2 separate regions of the Homo sapiens genome follow, and region 1 is linked to region 2. The links are contacts of gene promoters, found by promoter capture Hi-C in blood cells and fetal thymus (Javierre and others, 2016). All regions are on one chromosome and are shown on one strand. The core of a region is centred on a gene start or on the middle of the fragment in contact, and the rest is flanking DNA. Distances in the headings are between cores, read along the strand shown. Region 1 has its middle 13 kb from the start of CD1D. Region 2 holds the start of CD1B (CD1b molecule).

The links. The method cuts DNA at HindIII sites, captures the fragments that hold promoters and counts their contacts. A CHiCAGO score of 5 or more calls a contact.
Region 1: a contact is called between a fragment that was not itself captured here and the fragment with the promoter of CD1B in region 2, in 3 of 17 cell types (fetal thymus, M2 macrophages and M0 macrophages). The highest score is 15.1, in fetal thymus.

The regions. Positions count from the first base shown.
Region 1 is chr1:158,191,850-158,195,161 of GRCh38, forward strand. No RefSeq gene overlaps it. Among named protein-coding and RNA genes, the nearest start is that of CD1D, 13 kb to the left of the region's middle. RefSeq lists enhancers at 739-1,445, 1,446-2,151. The HindIII fragment of the contact is 5,198 bases long and covers 1-3,312 here.
Region 2 is chr1:158,329,637-158,332,834 of GRCh38, forward strand. It overlaps CD1B (CD1b molecule), which reads right to left and starts at 1,895. Exons shown (of 6, transcript NM_001764.3): 1 at 1,727-1,895; 2 at 1,160-1,426; 3 at 216-494; 4 at 1-12. The coding sequence starts at 1,787. The HindIII fragment of the contact is 309 bases long and covers 1,848-2,156 here.

The sequences.
Region 1 (3,312 bases), core at 634-3,133, 140 kb before region 2:
TAGATATATTAACTTTGACTTGAAAGAACTAGAACAACTTTACTAAGTTTTGAGAATCTGTAAACCAATTTATTTCTCTTACATTTTCTTTTGTTTATTCACAAAAATTATATATAATTAATATGCTTGTCTAAAAAAGTTCAAAAGACCACTTGAAAAGTTAAAACACAAAGAGATAAAAATATTGTGTTGGTTTATTTGACAGTTTTTTTCTTTTCTTAGTGGTACATAAAATATTTGCATAATTACAATTGGTTACATCTTAGCATGATGAAATATGATACCATAATTTAAATTAATATGAAAGTATGATAAAACATTAAGACAATAGATACCATATGACTCTGATAATACCTCCGTTTACTTTCCTAAAATTTTACAAAATTTTTACTCTTGGTTATCTGTTGCGGGAAGTCAGGGACCCCAAACGGAGGGACCGGCTGAAGCCATGACAGAAGAATGTGGATTGTGAAGATTTTATGGACATTTATTAGTTCCCCAAATTAATACTTTTGTAATTTCTTATGCCTGTCTTTACTGCAATCTCTAAACATAAATTGTAAAGATTTCATGGACACTTATCACTTCCCCAATCAATATCCTTGTGATTTCCTATGCCTGTCTTTGCTTTAATCTCTTAATCCTGTCAGCCGAGAAGGATGTATATCGTCTCAGGACCCTGTAATAATTGCGTTAACTACACAAATTGTACAGCATGTGTGTTTGAGCAATATGAAATGTGGGCACCCTGAAAAAAGAATAGGATAACAGCAATTGTTCAGAGAATAAGAGAGATAACCTTAAACTCTGACTGCCGGTGAGCCGGGCAGAACAGAGCCATATTTCTCTTCTTTCAAAAGCAAATGGGAGAAATATCGCTGAATTCTTTTTCTCAGCATGGAACGTCCCTGAGAAAGAGAATGCGCACCTAGGGGTAGGTCTCTGAACTGGCCCCCCCGGGGCGTATCTGTCTCTTTTGGTCGAGATTGCAGAGGTGAAATAAACTCCAGTCTCCCACAGCACTCCCAGGCTTATTAGGAAGAGGAAATTCCCGCCTAATAAATTTTGGTCAGACCGGTTGATCTCAAAACGCTGTCTCCTGATAAGATGTTATCAATGACAATGGTGCCTGAAACTTCATTAGCAATTTTAATTTTGCCTCCATCCTGTGGTCCTGTGATCTCGCCCTGCCTCCACTTGCCTTGTGATATTCTATTACCCTGTTAAGTACTTGATGTCTGTCACCCACACCTATTCGTATACTCCCTCCCCTTTTGAAACTCCCTGATAAAAACTTGCTGGTTTTTGTGGCTTGTGGGGCATCACGGATCCTACCAACGTGTGATGTCTCCCCCGGATGCCCAGCTTTAAAATTTCTCTCTTTTGTACTCTGTCCCTTTATTTCTCAAGCCAGCCGACGCTTAGGAAAATAGAAATGAACCTACGTGATTATTGGGGCAGGTCCCCCGATAGTTATCACCTCAAAAGAATAGGTAAAATATATATTTTTTTCCTTTGGAGACAGAGTCTCACTCTGTCCTCCAGGCTGGAGTACAGTGGTGCAGTCTCGGCTCACTGCAACTTCTGTCTCCTAGGTTCAAGGTTCAAGCGATTCTCCTGTCTCAGCCCCCCAAGTAGCTGGGATTACAGGCGCCCGCCACCACGCCTGGCTAATTTTTGTATTTTTTTTCATAAAGATGGGGTTTGGCTATGTTGACCAGGCTGGTCTTGAACTCCTGACCTCAGGTGATCTGCCCACCTTGGCCTCCCAAAGTGCTGAGATTACAGGCGTGAGTCGCTGTGCCTGGCCGATAAGTAAAATCTTAACGCATGGCTTTGTGCTACCACAGCACATCTTCCTGACTTCTGGTATCTAACTCCCTGGAGACCATTTTTTGGGCTCTACTCCTCACCCTCCTGGAATCTATTAATTCTTTGTTAGCTCCCCTGATCAGTGTGCTGGCTCTCTTGCTCCAAAATCTATTAATGAATTGCAGGTCATTCAAGGGCTTTTCAAAATGGAGGAAAAATAGTTTATTTTGTAGAGATACCATTTTCTCTTTTCTTTTCCAAATTATTGGAATCTAGGTGAAGAAATGCTTCATCTAAAATGCAGGGTCGTGGATGCTATGAATTGGTTTGCTGAAACTGGAAAGGTAAAAGTACATTTCTCAGACTACTTTTCATTTTCAGTTTTGGATGTATATTTGGTTTTAACATTTAGATGCAGTCTTGGGACATTTTTAGGCAGGCTTTTAACTACAAATGCACTTTTCTTTAGCAGATATAGAGTTATTCAACAGCTCTGATTAAATGAATAAACACCTTGAAAAACACAGACTACCAAAGTTCACTCAAAAAGAAACAGATGGCCAGGCGCGGTGGCTCACGCCTGTAATCACAACACTTTGGGAGGCCGAGGCGGGTGGATCACAAGGTCAGGAGTTCAAGACCAGCCTGGCCAAGATGGTGAAACCCTGTCTCTACTAAAAATATAAAAATTAGCCAGGCACAGTGGCTGGCGTCTGTAGTCCCAGCTACTCGGGAGGCTGAGGCAGGAGAATCGCTTGGACCTGGGGGGTGGAGGTTGCAATGAGCCAAGATTGTACCACTGCATTCCAGCCTGAGTGACAAAGTGGGACTCTGTCTCAAAAAAAAAAAAAAAAAAAAAAAAAAGAAATAGATAATCTGAATAACTTTTTCTGATATTGATAATTTGTATTGTTCCTCTTTCTCCACAGATTAATCAGGCTAGAGGTTTGTTGGTTTTATTAATCTTTTCATTGATTTCTTTCTTCTGTTTAATTTGGGTTTAGTTTGTTCTTTCCCCCCTAGCTTTTAAAGATAAAAGCTGAAGCTGTTGATTTGACATCTTTATCCATTTCTTTAAAAAATAATTAATAGCTAGTTTAATTAGTGACACAAAGAAAATAAATTGTGCCTCTTCAGCAGATAAGTCCTGATGACAAAAATCATGTAACATACATATGATTAAAAATTCAAACAAATGCTGACAGAAAAGAAAATTAGTATCCCTTCCTCTCCGCTTCCCATTGTCCCTCTCATAAAGAATAACCTCTCCTATTTACTTTTTAAAAAATTCTTAAGTTGATACATAATAATTGTATGTATTTATGGGGTGCATGGGATATTTTGATACATGTATACATGTGTAATGATCAAATCAGAGTGTTTAACATACCCATCATCTCAAACATTTACCATTTCTTTGCGCTTGGTAACATTTCAAATCTTTTCTTCCAGCTATTTTGAAATATACAATATGTTAACTATAGTTACCCTGCTATAGTA
Region 2 (3,198 bases), core at 645-3,144:
CCTCAGGCTTCACTAAGGCAGGAAGGAGAAAAAAAAGTGTCATGTTATAACTCGAGTTCAGAGGTTATGAACTCAGAAACCTACAAGCTTGGACAGCGACCCCATTCACTCCTTTGGGAACCAAATAACTTGTTATTTAAGCTCCTATCCTTTGATATCTTCCTACTCTTGATCTTAGAGGAGGTGGTGGGAAGTGAAATAACAGCAGGACTAACCTTGTCTTTGCAGATCTGCTTTTCCTGCATTGAGGACGCCCAAGAGATATCGGGGGCAGGTTTCATAGAGGAGAATTCTCACAGTTTCCATGATACCTTGATATTGTATGATTAGTGCACAGAATTTCTGTGCCCTGCTGCCACCTTCTGGGGAAGGCACACATGAAGCATTCTTGACACTCAGGAAATCCAATCCTCCTAGAGCTCCCCTCAGGAAGCTTACTATGGCACCTCCAGAATGTAGCTCACAGCCTGCTATGCCCTGGATCTCAAAGGGGTCTATGTAGAGGGAAAAGAGAGCAAGTTATTAAACACAAATAAGAAAAAAAGGCATGAGAAAAGAACCTAGGATTTTAGATTTTGGTGGGGATAAAGTTATTTGGTGTAAAATGATGATGAGCTAAAAACTAATGATAACATTTAGACATTTTCAGAAACAAGAGCATTGAGAAAAATGTGCATGCCATGAAGACAAAGGTATGTGATAAAGGAGTACAGTGAGTATGAAAGGAGAGGTGAGGCAGAGCGTGGTGCAGTCAGGAGTGCAGCATTCCAGAGTGAGTGGAGGTTCCCAGCAAGAGGAGGGTGCGGGGAGGAGATGATTGAAAAGATGGATTAGGGGAGAAAGCCACACGTTAGATCACTCAGGCACAGGGTAGGAGAAGTAAGGGCCCTTGAGGAGAAGTTTCACATAAGACAAACCAGCAGCTGGTTACAAAGTGGAAGACAGTCTGAGAGTAAGAGAAGAGTGCAGAGGCAGCAAGAATCTGAAATATGAGGTGTGATGGTGTGAAGCTGGAGTGAGAGACTACTCAAGAAAAGCATGTGCGTGCATTTGGGTAAAATAGAAAGGAAGGGAGAAGCATCAGAGAGAGCAACACTTTGCAAAAAAGAGAGAAAAGAGAGTCCTTGAGACTCTTCCCAGTTCGGTGGACTAGACTCACATTTCATCTGGAAATCACCGGCAAAGTCTTGTACTTCTCGAGCGAATCCAAAGATGTAGACTCGGAATATCTCCTCTAACTCAGCAACCTCCTTATCACTAAAGTTACCTTTAGACCAAGGCTTCAGGAATATGGCAGTGCCTGAGTCGCTATCCCAGCCATGAATCTGCAAATCATCCAACCAGCCTGAGCCTTGAGTTTGTGCCCAGGTACTATTGGTAAAGGACGAGGTCTGGATAACATGAAAGGAGGTCGGCCCCTGGAAGGCTGTGAAGAGTGGAAAAGCAAGATGGTGAAGATAAAGAGAGAAGCAGGAGACAATTAGGAAGAATGGGAATGAAAATGATTTAGAAAACAAGAACCTAGAGTCTAAAGAACACAGGAAGTCTGACACATTTGACTGCCTTAAGGCTTCAGGTTCTAGTCCCAACCACCAGAATGGTTGAAGAGGGCGGGAGACAGAAAGACCCAGACCCTTAGTGTCCAATTGCACCTAGGAAAGCCCTGCTTGCTTTTTAAAATCCAAACCCCTGCACCAGTGCTGGGAGCTGCCAGAGTGACTCTTACCATGTTCACTGTTACCACCAGGAAAGAGAACAGCTAACAGTTGAAATGGCAGCAGCAGCATTTCACTGGGAGATGCAACTTCTTACTGGCAGAGCTGGTATTTGATCTCCAATTTCAGCAAAGCTTTTCCTCAGTACCCTGTAGTGACTTCTTCTCTCTTCCAACTGCCAAATCTCTTCCTCATCCAAACTGCTTTTCAGAGAAAAATGTGCCTCCCACAGCCCTGAGCCTCTTACCTCACCTTTTATTTCCCTCAAGCCCTGATTTTTAGAGTTTCTCTTACCCCCTGACTTCCAGCCGCTCTCCCTGTCCTCACCTTCCTTCATACCTCCTTGGAAAAGCCCCCATATGATTCTGCATTTTCATTTCTCCTTCCTTAGCCTTTATTCCCACATCTATAGGATAAGATGGTGATATTAAGCAATTGCTAAGCTTTTAGTCTGCTTTAACCCAGAAGGATGCTTTTAGTTTATCCACCTCACTTAGTTTCTCCCCCTCCCAGCTGCCTTATCTTCTCTGGCACTCTGTTACTGCCTCTTCCCAATGTTTTCAATGTCTTCTCTTTCTTATATTGCCCTCTTTGTCTGGTGTTCCTTACCCCACATTCTAAACTGGCTGTGAGTGTGTGTGTGTGTGTGTCTGTGTCTGTGTGTGTATGTGTATGTGTGTGTACCGATATTCACTTACATAAAGGCAAAGCATTTAAAACATTTCCTGTACTATAGCACTACAAACCAAAATGCCAGAATCAAATATAATAAAGACTGAAGTTTATAATTCAAACAAAATTATACTATAGCAATATTTGAGGGAAAAAATGACAATTGCTGCTAGCATGTGACCTTCTCTTCAGGAGCTCTTGGCCTATGGAGTTTTGAGTAACAAATATTCATGACATAAACAGAACTCTAGGAGCTATGCTATGTGCACCTCCAGCCTAAGTCAAAGATAACTTTTTGGGTAAGTTGCCATAAGCGGCAGAGCTTTTTTCTTCTCTTGTAATATCTCATAACTGCTGTCTACATTTGGGCATTCATATCACCACATGTGGTATTAATAATAGAGCAAAGAGGTTGCTTTTTTTTATACAAAAAGTTCAGAGATACTTGTTTTAAGATGTCACCTCCTATCTTCTTGTATGCCCATGAAAAATTTTAAGAAGAATTTTTGGATTTTCTCCATTTAGGAAAAAAATCACATATTTGCAGAGATCTATGTATCATGCAGAAATGTGGCAGCAATCGATTCCGAGTAAAGAGGGTTATCACTAACTAATTCTATTATGTGGATAAGAAAATGCAAAGTGAGTAGTGTAGTGTTCTCTATTCCTGGGGACACTACTGGTTCACAACATTAATAAGACTGGTTCACAACATTAATAAGACTAGCCTTCATCCAAGATTATTACTGCCTAATTGATAAATACAGAGCAGCTCTCCAAATTTCAATGTATGTATCTCTTAACAACATTC